Linked DNA regions of Homo sapiens: all the other regions are linked to region 2. Evidence: promoter capture Hi-C in 16 types of primary human blood cells and fetal thymus (Javierre and others, 2016). All regions are on one chromosome and are shown on one strand. The core of a region is centred on a gene start or on the middle of the fragment in contact, and the rest is flanking DNA. Distances in the headings are between cores, read along the strand shown. Region 1 overlaps FEN1 (flap structure-specific endonuclease 1). Region 2 holds the start of BEST1 (bestrophin 1). Region 3 has its middle 3.8 kb from the start of LINC02733.

Region 1 (4,809 bases), core at 1,307-3,806, 150 kb before region 2:
AGGAGGGCACAGCTAAGGAAAAGTGGGAAAAGGCGGGCCTTATTCCAGCTTTCTGTTGAGATCCCAGAATGTAGGGTTAGGTTGGGAACCAGAACATGAAAGATCGTGATGCCATGCTGAAGTGTTTGGACTGAATTAGAAGGAAGAATTGAACAGTCATTGATGCTCTAGAAAGAACCCTGTGAAGAAAGAGTGGGAACAATGAAAAGGCCTGATGGAGTCTTTCGTTTCTTCTTTCTCTTTTCTTTTGTCTTCTTTTCTTTTCTTGACAGGGTCTTGCTCTGTTGCCCAGGCTGGAGTGTGGTGGCACAATCATAGCTCACTGTAGCCTGGAACTCCTGGGCTCATGTGATCCTCCCACCACGGCCTCCCAAAGTGCTGGGATTACTGCCCAGAGCCTCTGTGCCTGGCCCCAGTAGAATATTTCTTGGAGTATTGGACACATACCAACAGTGGGCACAAGATGAGTTTTTTATTTTTTTGAGACGGAGTCTCACTCTCTTGCTAGGCTGGAGTGCAGCGGCACAATCTCGGCTCACTGCATTCTCTGCCTCCTGGGTTCAAGCGATTCTCCTGCCTCAGCCTCCCGAGTAGCTGGGATTACAGGTGCACACCACCACACCCAGCTAATTTTTTTTTTTTTTGTATTTTTAGTAGAGACAGGGTTTCACCGTGTTGGCCAGGATGGCAAGATGATTTTAAATTGCACCCCCTAAAAATCCTTTTTAATAGTTATACATTTAATACATATTAAAATATAACTAATAGAACACAAATATTATTGCTTATGAGTTTTCCAGTTTAGTTTTTTAAAAAAAATTCTAAGTGAATGAAAGTACGGGTTTTAGTTGGAAGTAGCAAAAATCGTGAGGGTGATTTGGGAAACACTGCTATCTGGGAAACACTGAACTCTGAAGTGCAATACTCTTTTGAGCCCAGTGACTACAGCATGCCAGACCCCTAAATCAGGACCTGGGGAGGAGCCATGGAGTTAACATTTCAGACTGAGTGGTGGCGAGAAAACGCAAAGGGAAAGACTTGAAACTCTAGCAACATTATAATAAAAGTAGAAACTCTTATGTGCTGAGGCGATGATGAAGAGAGTTTAGAGAAGCTTGTGAGAAAGCCACATCACCTCCATTCAGATATGTTTGCAATCCTTTTTCAAGGCTGCCTTATTAGTCAGGGTTCTCCAGAGACTCAAAACAAATCAGATCTGTTTGTTTAGCTGGTGTATTTGCCTGTCTTTCAGGTCTGCCATTATGGTCCCTGGACTCCTCAAGCCAGGCCAAGCATCCTGGCCTTCTGTGGTCCTTGATGGAGACCTATGTTGCAGGTTTTTTTTGTGTAATAAATAATGCTGCTACCTTAGAATATCAACAGTATCTTATTTCTCTAAGCACGTGGTTCAATTTCTGGTACTCGTTGAGCCTTACTATTGAGTAAATTCTCCTGCTAGACTGAGTTTTTTGAGAATGGGGACCTTGTTCATCTTTTTATCTTTAGCAGTGCTGACATGGTGTCCTTTTTGTTGTGTGGAATTTAGTTGAAGGCATGAAGTTGGTGAGATAACACCAGTTATAACCTTTCTCCTTTCCTCCGTCTCTGACTTGCCTTTCTTTTTTAGTCATCCCTCCTCTGTGTTGCCATGGGAATTCAAGGCCTGGCCAAACTAATTGCTGATGTGGCCCCCAGTGCCATCCGGGAGAATGACATCAAGAGCTACTTTGGCCGTAAGGTGGCCATTGATGCCTCTATGAGCATTTATCAGTTCCTGATTGCTGTTCGCCAGGGTGGGGATGTGCTGCAGAATGAGGAGGGTGAGACCACCAGCCACCTGATGGGCATGTTCTACCGCACCATTCGCATGATGGAGAACGGCATCAAGCCCGTGTATGTCTTTGATGGCAAGCCGCCACAGCTCAAGTCAGGCGAGCTGGCCAAACGCAGTGAGCGGCGGGCTGAGGCAGAGAAGCAGCTGCAGCAGGCTCAGGCTGCTGGGGCCGAGCAGGAGGTGGAAAAATTCACTAAGCGGCTGGTGAAGGTCACTAAGCAGCACAATGATGAGTGCAAACATCTGCTGAGCCTCATGGGCATCCCTTATCTTGATGCACCCAGTGAGGCAGAGGCCAGCTGTGCTGCCCTGGTGAAGGCTGGCAAAGTCTATGCTGCGGCTACCGAGGACATGGACTGCCTCACCTTCGGCAGCCCTGTGCTAATGCGACACCTGACTGCCAGTGAAGCCAAAAAGCTGCCAATCCAGGAATTCCACCTGAGCCGGATTCTGCAGGAGCTGGGCCTGAACCAGGAACAGTTTGTGGATCTGTGCATCCTGCTAGGCAGTGACTACTGTGAGAGTATCCGGGGTATTGGGCCCAAGCGGGCTGTGGACCTCATCCAGAAGCACAAGAGCATCGAGGAGATCGTGCGGCGACTTGACCCCAACAAGTACCCTGTGCCAGAAAATTGGCTCCACAAGGAGGCTCACCAGCTCTTCTTGGAACCTGAGGTGCTGGACCCAGAGTCTGTGGAGCTGAAGTGGAGCGAGCCAAATGAAGAAGAGCTGATCAAGTTCATGTGTGGTGAAAAGCAGTTCTCTGAGGAGCGAATCCGCAGTGGGGTCAAGAGGCTGAGTAAGAGCCGCCAAGGCAGCACCCAGGGCCGCCTGGATGATTTCTTCAAGGTGACCGGCTCACTCTCTTCAGCTAAGCGCAAGGAGCCAGAACCCAAGGGATCCACTAAGAAGAAGGCAAAGACTGGGGCAGCAGGGAAGTTTAAAAGGGGAAAATAAATGTGTTTCCCCATTATACCTCCTTCACCCCAGAATATTTGCCGTCTTGTACCCTTAAGAGCTACAGCTAGAGAAACCTTCACGGGGTGGAGAGAGGATTCTAAGGCTTTTCTAGCGTGACCCTTTTCAGTAGTGCTAGTCCCTTTTTTACTTGATCTTAATGGCAAGAAGGCCACAGAGGTACTTTTCCTTTTTTAGCTCAGGAAAATATGTCAGGCTCAAACCACTTCTCAGGCAGTTTAATGGACACTAAGTCCATTGTTACATGAAAGTGATAGATAGCAACAAGTTTTGGAGAAGAGAGAGGGAGATAAAAGGGGGAGACAAAAGATGTACAGAAATGATTTCCTGGCTGGCCAACTGGTGGCCAGTGGGAGGTGATGGTGGACCTAGACTGTGCTTTTCTGTCTTGTTCAGCCTTGACCCACCTTGAGAGAGAGCCACCAGGAAGGCGCATCTTAGCAGATGGGAGGAACTGCTGAGAGAAGATGGGCAGAAAGCTGGAGCCCCTGGAGTTGGCTGTGTCTGTGTTTGTGACTGATTACTGGCTGTGTCTTGGGTGGGCAGAAACTCGAACTTGCTATGTAATTTGTGTCTAGTTATTCAGAGGAGTAAGATGGTGATGTTCACCTGGCAATCAGCTGAGTTGAGACTTTGGAATAAGACACTGGTTTTCATGCGCTGTTTTTGTTTTAAAGTTATGAAGAAAAAAGTCAATAAAATTCTAAAAGTAACCAAAATGTCATGTTCTTTGAGAACATTTGAAAATATCCCAAGTGACCATGGCTCCAAATAGCTTTCCTTTTCACTCTTAACATGCTGTAATTGCACTTGATTAACAATGGGTGGTTTGAGAGTGGCCACAAGATGGCACCATGCTCCATAAAATGGCCATAGCAGCTAGATGGAACTTCAGCCATTAGGAGGAGGATGTTTTGTTTATTTTATTTTGCTGGGAGAGGAGTTTTAATACGTTGAATAGATTTCTAGTCTCTCACTCCATGAGATCAAAGGAGTGCCTTTAAGAAAGCCTCACAATTTAGATCAACTACCTCATAACATCCAAGCATTTACTTTGCCACTACTTGTAAACTGAAAGCTGCCATTCAGAAACCATTTTCTTGTTCCTTTTGTAACATCAAATCCAAGATACTGTTTCCCATAGAGATGGCATGTTTTTGAGCTTTGAAAGTTTTATAATCCTGATAAAGCTTGGCCCATTTGAATGTCTGACGTTTTAGCATTCCTGTCAGGGCCATTTGAAGTTAACAGGGACACTTATGTAACTGTCCGAAATTTAAGCTGGCAATGTCTTGACAGATTAAACAGGTAGGGAGCCTGAAGACCAGTAGTTTTCAAGTCTTTTAATGGAGAAACCTATTCTTCAAGTGTAATCTTATGTGAAACTTTAGGATGTACAGGTTCCTCTGGTTGAAGCTGGAATGGGATAAAGTTTACCCAGCAACGGCCTCATAACTAGGGTACTTTTTGAAAACTGGTGTTGACAAAAAGTTCTATCCCAAGGGCAGGTAACTTTTGAAACTGATTTTCCCAGATTATACCAAGCCACACAACTTATTTGAGCTCTATTTTCTGATTCAGGTAGATTGCTTCTAAATCTGCAGTAATGGTGATAGGAACTAAAGACGGTAAGATTTCTTTTTTTTTTTTTTTTTTGAGACAGAGTCTCTTGCTCTGTCACCCAGGCTGGAGTTCAGTAGTGCGATCTTGGCTCACTGCAGCCTCAGCCTCCTGGGCTCAAGTGATTCTCCCACCTCAGCCTCCCAAGCAGCTGGGATTACAGGCACAGGCCACCATGCCTGGATGATTTTTCAATTTTTTGTAAAGATGGGATCTCACTGTTGCCCAGGCTGGTCTTAAACTCCTGGGCTCAAGCAATCCTCCCGCCTTGGCCTCCTAAAGGCTAGGATTACGTGTGCCATTCTCTCCCAGTGCTGGGATTACAGGATGAGCCACCTTGCCTGGCGAAATGTTAAGATTTCTTAGGAGTTATTGCC
Region 2 (4,239 bases), core at 1,724-4,223:
TCCAGGCATGGCTTGGGTCAATCAGCACTCATGACTTTGCTGTGTGCCTGAGCCGTGCCTGGCTAACTGGGGACATTTTCATAGCTGAGACCCAGTAGGAGAGACCATGACTTGTGCCAGGGTGTGCCTGTCTCAGCTCTGGGGCAGGGCCAGGAGCAGCTGCTCATGGGATGTCTCTGGGGACATGCTGGGGCCTCTGGGAGGGGAAGGGAGACTGGCCATGCACTGTCTATGGTCCTGGTGGTACTCCTGGGATATTGCCAAGGAGCCTGCGGTTCAGGGAACAGGGAGGAGGGACTCTAGTGTCTCCAACTCCCTCTCATGGCTCTATGGCTGCTGGTCGGGGTCAGGGAGATGAAGCAGTGCCAGCTCCGTGGTCTGCACTGATCCTGACCAGTGAACCAGGCTTCCCCAGCCAGAGCCAGCTAGTCAAGCACGCTCTCTAGTGGCCACCACAGGGAAGGCAAGAACTTGTCTCCACAAAGGCAGGATTTTCATTTATTCCTTCAGAGAGTACAGAATGAGCATCAATGTTCCAGGCATGGTGCCAGGCATGTGTGTTAACTTTAGTTAAAACATACTTATTGGCCGAGTGTGGCGGCTCACTCCTGTAATCCCACCACTTTGGGAGGCCTAGGTGGGAGGACTGCTTGAACTTAGAGCTCAATACCAGCCTGGGTAATGTAGTGAGACCCTATCTCTATAAAAAAAAAAAAAATAGCTGGGTGTGGTGGTGTGCGTCTGTAGTCCCAGCGACTTGGGAGGCTGAGATGGGAGGATTGCTTGAGCCTGGGAAGTGGAGGTTGCAATGAGCCAAAATCACACCCATTGCACTCCAGCCTGGGTGACCTTGTCTCAAAAATATAGTTATATATTTACTTATATATTTATATGTATAAATATATGTGTACATACAAATATATTTGTAATATTATAGACATATTAATACATATTTACATATGTTAATATATAAATATATATAATATATATTTATCATCTTCTAAATGGAAAGCTCTTGAGTTTCAGGATGTGTTGGTTGGGAAGGGAATACAGGATAGGGAAATAATCCATTAAGCAATGACTCAGCACAGGCCATAAAATCAGAATCACCTGGAGAACTTGAACAATCCCAACACCTGGGGTCCATCCAGACCAATCAAATCAGAATTCGTAGGGGTCAGGCACAGGCACCAGTGGTTTGGAGAGTTGACGGACACATGTCCCATCCATCATTCTCATTCGGCTGCCAAGGTAGGCATCGTTGTCCCATTTTGCATATGAGGAGACTGAGGCTGAAGTGAACCTGCTTCTTTCCCCATATCAGTTGAGGACAGCGATGGGGCAGCGGGGAGGCAGTAAATACTCCTACAAGGCTGCCTCTAAAGAGAGTCTTATAATAACAACAGCTTTATTGTTTGCCATGATTAGAAAAGTATTCAAGGTCATTGCGAAATAGTGTTTTTTTTTCTAGGCAGATAATTATATAAAGGCAAAAATGGTGTGTGGGGGTGGGGGACAAGGGGAGGGAGAGCATTAGGACAAATACCTAATGCACGCAAGGCTTAAAACCTAGATGATGGGTTGACAGGTGCAGCAAACCACCATGGCACACGTATACCTATGTAACAAACCTGCACATCATGTATACCTATGTAACAAACCTGTACATTCTGCACACGTATCCCAGAACTTAAAGTGAAAAAAAAAGTGGTGTGTAGAAAAATCACCTGCAATCTCAGCATAGTTAACGCTTAGTACATTTCAGAGAGAGAGGGTGACAGGAAAGGGAGGATGAGAGTGGGTTTAAGACACAAGGTCATATTATAAAATCAGGGCTTCTGGAAGTTTAGTCCCAAAACCACACATCTCATAATCCCCTGCAGTGCTTGATTAAAATGCAACATCCCTAAGGCCACAGACTCAGACTCTGGAGAAAGATCCAGAAAACTGCCCGTTTAATAAACATTTGGGCGATTCTTACGGCCTCTAAAGACCAAGAACCACTGCTGCCTAGAGCTCTGCTCTCTTCATTGAACAATACAAGAGGAGTGTGTAGGTAGACACCCACCACTTCCAACAGCTTAGGAGAGCCCTTGAGTATGGATTGATGTATTAAAATTTATTGAATCACATGCTGAGATTTTCACCAGCTGCCCGTGGGGATCTGGGCATTTATTCCCATATTGCACTGGCTGGCTGGAAGCCAGCAGCATAAACTCCAGGGCTGTTCTGTCAACCCCCACCAGACTCACCCCCCTCCACCAGCCCCGGCAGGCTTCTCCTTCCATCTCTCTGAAGCAACTTACTGATGGGCCCTGCCAGCCAATCACAGCCAGAATAACGTATGATGTCACCAGCAGCCAATCAGAGCTCCTCGTCAGCATATGCAGAATTCTGTCATTTTACTAGGGTGATGAAATTCCCAAGCAACACCATCCTTTTCAGATAAGGGCACTGAGGCTGAGAGAGGAGCTGAAACCTACCCGGGGTCACCACACACAGGTGGCAAGGCTGGGACCAGAAACCAGGACTGTTGACTGCAGCCCGGTATTCATTCTTTCCATAGCCCACAGGGCTGTCAAAGACCCCAGGGCCTAGTCAGAGGCTCCTCCTTCCTGGAGAGTTCCTGGCACAGAAGTTGAAGCTCAGCACAGCCCCCTAACCCCCAACTCTCTCTGCAAGGCCTCAGGGGTCAGAACACTGGTGGAGCAGATCCTTTAGCCTCTGGATTTTAGGGCCATGGTAGAGGGGGTGTTGCCCTAAATTCCAGCCCTGGTCTCAGCCCAACACCCTCCAAGAAGAAATTAGAGGGGCCATGGCCAGGCTGTGCTAGCCGTTGCTTCTGAGCAGATTACAAGAAGGGACTAAGACAAGGACTCCTTTGTGGAGGTCCTGGCTTAGGGAGTCAAGTGACGGCGGCTCAGCACTCACGTGGGCAGTGCCAGCCTCTAAGAGTGGGCAGGGGCACTGGCCACAGAGTCCCAGGGAGTCCCACCAGCCTAGTCGCCAGACCTTCTGTGGGATCATCGGACCCACCTGGAACCCCACCTGTGAGTACAAGGTGCCCCAGGTGGACTGGGCTGGGGCTTTGAGGCCTTCAGGGTTGGATGGCCATCTTGCGTATTTGTGTGGGATATGCACACACAGGCAGCACATGCGCAGGTGTGTGGGCACCTGTGTGTCTGTGCAAATGCCCTGAGGTGGGAATGAGCTTGGTGTGCATCAGGCACAGCCAGCCAGTGTGGCTGCAGCAAAACACACAGGGAAAGAATGGAGGGGGCATCAATCACTGCTTCAGTAAATTTTTATTGAGCGCCTTCTACGAGAACACAAGAGGAGCTTCCATTCTGAGGAGGAAACAGGCAGGAAACAGGCAGATATCCTGTATAATTTCAAGTAGTGATAAGTGCTCTCTAGAAATATCAAGCAAGGTGAGGAGACACAGAGCACCGGTGGCAGTGGGGCTCTATTTCCAGGTTGGATGGTTGGGAACATCCTTTCTAAAGGGAACCTGGAGTGGGAAGGAACCATGCAGGTATCTCAGGAAGAGCTTCCTCCAGGCAGGAAGATCAGCAGGTGGAAAGGCCCTGGAGCCACCATTCAGTAAACATCATTTGAGCATCTCTACCAGCTAGGTTCCATTATGGGAATGGGAATATGGTGGTGGACAGGGCTGCCTGGTCCCTTCCATACTTCTCACACTAGGGTGGTTGAGAGAGCTTGGGAGCTAACGAACAAGATGGGCTGAGAACACTGCCTAGCCCAGAGGACCTGAGCTTAGTGTGTAGACATTGCTGCTGTTACTGCCTTTGTCATTGTATTATTTATTTATTTATTTATTTATTTTTAGACAGAGTTTTGCTCTTCTTACCCAGGCTGGAGTGCAATGGCGTGATCTCAGCTCACTGCAACCTCCACCTCCTGGGTTCAAGCGATTCTCCTGCCTCAGCCTCCTGAGTAGCTGGGATTACAGGCACCCGCACCACGCCTGGATAATTTTTTTGTATTTTTAGTAGAGACAGGGTTTCACCATGTTGGCCAGGCTGGTCTCGAACTCCTGACCTTAGGTGATCCACCTGCCTCGACTTCCCAAAGTGCTGGGATTATAGGCATGAGCCACTGCGCCCAGTGATTATAGAAAGTTAAAGGCACATGGCAATGCACACGCCTATCTACGTCTTCCCTGCCAAAGCAAAGGGCAGCCTCTGGGCTCACTTTCTTGCGTTTCTACTTCCAAAA
Region 3 (4,819 bases), core at 1,067-3,566, 140 kb after region 2:
CTTAAATCCCCTTGATTTTATTTATGTAGTTGGTGCAAGGTGAATGCTTCTTTATCTGTATGGGTGACTTTCTCTTGGGCAGGGTACACATTTAAAAGCTCCGAGGAAGCTTTTAAAAGACCATTTCTGGGCCTCATCACAGAACAGATGAAATCAAAATTTCTGAGTGTGGACCTGAGACATCAGATTTAAAAAATAAAAACAAAACTCTCCCAGGCGTTTTTTAACATGGAGCCAGGGCTGAGAATCTTTGCTTTAAGGTCAGACCAAGAGTAGAGTTGCTGGGGTGTGTATTATTCGCATTGTCAGCTATACTGGATGTTGCTGGTGCTCTCTAAAGTGATTAAACTAGGCCGGGCGCAGTGGCTCACGCCTGTAATGCCTGCACTTTGGGAGGCCAAGATAAGCAGATCACCTGGGGTCTGGAGTTTGAGACCAGCCTGGCCAACATGGTGAAACCCCGTCTCTACTAAAAATACAAAAATTAGCCAGGCGTGGTGGCAGGCGCCTGTAATCCCAGTTACTTGGGAGGCTGAGGCACGAGAATTGCTTGAACTTGGGAGGCAGAGGTTGCAGTGAGTAGAGATTGCACTGTTGCACTCCAGCCTGGGCAACAAAGCGAGACTCTGTCTAAAATAAATAAATAAATAAATAAATAAAATAAAGTGATTAAACTATTTATGGTCCTCAAGTAGGAGAATTTCAATTGCTTCACACTTTTGAAAATACATGTTGTGATATTTATATAAAACCAAGAACCATGGATGAAAAAACATATATGTGTGTCTCATATATGTATGCATTTCATATACATATGTGTTATAAACATATATATGTCTTTCATATATATATATATAAAATGTTTTCACCCATGATTCTTGGCTTATAACTCCCATAGCTCTTGTTATTACAGTTTCTGTTATAATGTTAGGGCACTTTAGTTCTCACAAGCAGGCTTCAGGAAACAGAATCTCTCTCTCTCTCTCTGACCTTCTCCTGCCCACCTTTTACCTGCTCCTTTTTTCTCCCCACCTTTTACCTGCTTCTTTTCCTATCTTTCTGTCTAGGAGCTGGTCATGAGGAAATTCTCTGGCCTACTTTGATTGTAGGTCACAATACCCTCATTTCAGACAGGTCCTGCCCTATTCCCTGGAAGGAATGCTGCACAGAGAGACCAAGAAGAATCTGATCAGATGGGCCTTGTTGGGTTTCCCCATTCAGCCTGTTAGTGTTAGATCGTACCCAATCATATTTATTTTATTTATTTATTTATTTATTTATTTATTTATTTATTTATTTTTTGAGATGGAGTCTCACTCTGTCACCTAGGCTGGAGTGCAGTGACGTGATCTCGGCTCACTGCAACCTCCGCCTCCCGGGTTCAAGCAATTCTCCTGCCTCAGCCTCCCAGGTAGCTGGGATTACAGGCTCCCACTACCATGCCTGGCTAATTTTTGTATTTTTAGTAGAGACGGGGTTTCACCATATTGGCCAGGCTGATCTCGAACTCCTGACCTCGTGATCCGCCCGCCTTGGCCTCGCAAAGTGTTGGGATTACAGGCGTGAGCCATCATGCCTGGCAATAAATTATTTCTTCAAATATTGTGGGGATACAACTGCAGAGATCTCAGATTTCAACGTGTTTTTGTCCAATGCTTATACCATTCAGGTTATAACCATTTCAGAAAAGGTCTGTATAATTCTGGCAATTCATGTATGGCCTTGTAGTGTTAGGTTTTTAGGTGTATATGTGGGATATGTGTGGTTTAGGAAAAAAGCCTTGCAACTTTACAAAGCACTGGACATACACTAGCTAGCCTTCTCTTCACTCCTGTCATTACTGATCTGTTTTCCCCATTTTAGTAAATGGTCAAGATTTACCCCTAGAGAAAGAGTCAGCTTGTGGCCAAATTCATGTTTGATAGATCTTCTCAGCTCTAAAACTGAAAGGGAGAAACTTCAGACAGCAGAAAGAGAAAACAAACAAGCAGGGTGGGTGAAATAATTTCCTATGGTTGTTGAAACAAATTACCACAAATTTCGTGGTTTAAAACAACACAAGGCTGGGCTCAGTGGTGCATGCCTGTAATCCCAGCACTTTGGGGGGCCGAGGTGAGAAAATTGCTTGAGCTCAGGAGTTTGAGACCAGCCTGGCAACACAGTGAGACCTTGTCTCTAAAAAATAAAGAAAGAAAGAAGAAAAAGAAAAAAATTCCAAAAACCAAAACCACCCCACACATTTATTATCTTATAGTTCTGGGGTCAGAGGTCCAAAATGGGTCTTTATGAGCTAAAAACCAAGGTGTTATCAGGCCTGCATCCCTTCTTTTTATTTTATTTAATTCTTTTTTTTTTTTTTGGTAGGGATGCAGTCTCACTCTAATGCCCAGGCTGGTCTTGAATTCCTGGGCTCAAGCAATTCACCCATCTCGGCCTCCCAAAGTGCTGGGATTGTAGGCATGAGGAACTGTGCCTGGCCTTACTTTTGGGTTTTTGAGGAAAAGTGTGGTTTAGACACTTGGAAATGTCTTTGTCGAAAAAAAATGTTTTTTAAGTGTACAGTAAAAGCATCACATGGTCTAACCTCATAATAATTCTCCCTTTTTGGAGACCCAAGATTCAACGTGGGCTTTCCCAGAGCTCAGAGATCCAGTTAAAAGATAAGTAGGCCCTATCTAAATAAAATTGATCCCCTTATACAATCCTATGATAGATTTCTATAATTTTATGTTCAATTTGGCATCCATCTTTAATCTTCCTCTAGCACCACCAGACTTTTACTCTCTGTACCTTATGATGTAAATTTTTCTATTTGATTTTCAGCTGAGTTCTTTCCTTTAATATGCACATTTAAGGCTATTTAACTGACAACTGCCTAGTGTTGTGAAACAGGTTATCAAGTATCTGAAAGTCTAAGATAGGAAAAAAAAAAAAAGGTGTGTTTATTAAGTCTATAAGATGTAATTCTTTTTTTTTTTTTTTTTTTTTTTTTTGAGATGGAGTCTCGCACTGTCCACTGGCCTGGAGTGCAGTGGCGCAATCATGGCTTACTACAACCTCCGCTCCCAGCTTCAAACGATTCTCCTGCCTCAGCCTCCCAAGTAGCTGGGATTACAGGTGCCCGCCACCACACCCAGATAATTTTTTTTATTTTTAGTAGAGACAGGGTTCCACTATGTTGGCCAGACTGGTCTCAAACTCCTGACCTCGTGATCTGCCCACCTCAGCCTCCCAAAGTGCTGGGATTACAAGCATGAGCCACTGCGCCTGGCCTTTTTTTTTTTTTTTTTTTTTTGAGACAGAGTCTCTCTCTGTTGCCCAGGCTGGAATGCAGTGGCACGATCTTGGCTCACTGCAACCTCCATCCCCCAGGTTCAAACAGTTCTCCTGCCTCAGCCTCCTGAGTAGCTGGGATTACAAGAGCCCACAACCATGCCCGGCTAATTTTTTGTATTTTTAGTAGAGGTGGGGTTTCACCATGTTGGTCAGGCTGGTCTCAAGCTCCTGATCTCAGGTGATCCACCCATGTTAGCCTCCCAAAGTGCTGGGATTATAGGCGTGAGCCACTGCACCCAACCTATAAGATGTATTTCTATTGGCATTCCTAATACATCTATGTATTTATGTGTTGTATACACAATGTTTCACTACCAAAAATATATAAAAGAGGTCTAATTAATTGGCTTAAAGAAAAATAAAAGCATTGAAATAAAATACTTTATCAGAAAAAGGAAAAACTAGTCAAATTATTTTTCAAGTTTACATGACTTAAGTAAAATCTTTAATAAGTAAGCTAGCTTTAAAATTATTGGTAAAATAATATTAGAAATGTCTTAAGAATTTCCAGCATACATTTTATTTGCATTTATTAATCTAGCAATTTCATACTTATCCTAGCCAAATACTATAAGGTGTCAAAATTTGGCACAGGGGTTACAAAACCATAAACCCAGCCCAAAACAGAATGATTCTTGCTTGCCGATCTTTAATAAACAAGACATTGATATTGTTTAACAAAAATAGCTACATCTGGAATTACTTAGTAAAATTACCATAACTTCTAATCTTGTGGCTTTAGGCAGTCTAGTCTACAGGCAGTAAGGAGGTTTGTTTTGGGAAAGGACTGCTATTGTCTTTGTTTCAATGCTAAACTATAAATTAAGTTCCTCCCAAAATTCAGGAATGAACAAGGACAGCTTGGAGGTTAGAAGCAAGATGGAGTCAGTTAGGTCATATCTTTTTCATTGTCTCAGTTAGAATTTTGCAGTGGCAAGTTTCATAGCTTTAAATGATGACTATCACAGTTTTCATAAATAATCTAGGTAAACAAAATAAAATAACTAGGTAAATGTAATGAGATAAATACTTGTAGACAAACTGGTCATAATTTAGAATCTAGAGTTAAATTAAATAGTAGATATTTCATTATTTGGGTATTTTCAAATAAAAATATATATTGTATGAAAAAATTGTTTCTTAAGAAAAGTGTCCTTTTTAAAAAGGTGAACAAATTTTGTCAAATTCAAAGCTTATTTAAAGGTTATGTATAAAACAAGGTAAAAGGAACCAGGAAATAAGAGAGATATAAAGAAAGTTATAGAAATAAAGAGGGTTTTTTTGGGGGGGTAAGAAAGCTTAAAGAGAAATAATTTTATATAAGAAAGAATCTTGTATGGTAAATTTAGACCTAGAATAAAATGACTAGTTGTTTAAGAAAGAGGAATGTTTGGGACAAACCAGAAAGTCCAAGCATGTCATGAATGGTCTGTGTAAGTCACAATAAAAGGATTTATTTTTAAAAAAACTTTTACATGATCAA

What was found. The method cuts DNA at HindIII sites, captures the fragments that hold promoters and counts their contacts. A CHiCAGO score of 5 or more calls a contact.
Region 1: a fragment that was not itself captured here is called in contact with the fragment with the promoter of BEST1 in region 2 in 17 of 17 cell types (neutrophils, total B cells, naive CD4 T cells and 14 more); the score reaches 23.7 in neutrophils.
Region 3: a contact is called between a fragment that was not itself captured here and the fragment with the promoter of BEST1 in region 2, in 15 of 17 cell types (neutrophils, erythroblasts, megakaryocytes and 12 more). The highest score is 32.9, in neutrophils.

Annotation. Positions count from the first base shown.
Region 1 is chr11:61,793,714-61,798,522 of GRCh38, forward strand. FEN1 (flap structure-specific endonuclease 1) reads left to right here. Exons shown (of 2, transcript NM_004111.6): 2 at 1,628-3,525. The coding sequence starts at 1,649. The coding sequence ends at 2,791. Among named protein-coding and RNA genes, the nearest start is that of FEN1, 3.2 kb to the left of the region's middle. RefSeq lists enhancers at 1-87, 1,633-2,133. The HindIII fragment of the contact is 2,888 bases long and covers 1,113-4,000 here.
Region 2 is chr11:61,947,378-61,951,616 of GRCh38, forward strand. BEST1 (bestrophin 1) reads left to right here and starts at 2,974. Exons shown (of 11, transcript NM_004183.4): 1 at 2,974-3,050. The HindIII fragment of the contact is 17,311 bases long and covers 1-4,239 here.
Region 3 is chr11:62,083,724-62,088,542 of GRCh38, forward strand. No RefSeq gene overlaps it. Among named protein-coding and RNA genes, the nearest start is that of LINC02733, 3.8 kb to the left of the region's middle. The HindIII fragment of the contact is 4,419 bases long and covers 108-4,526 here.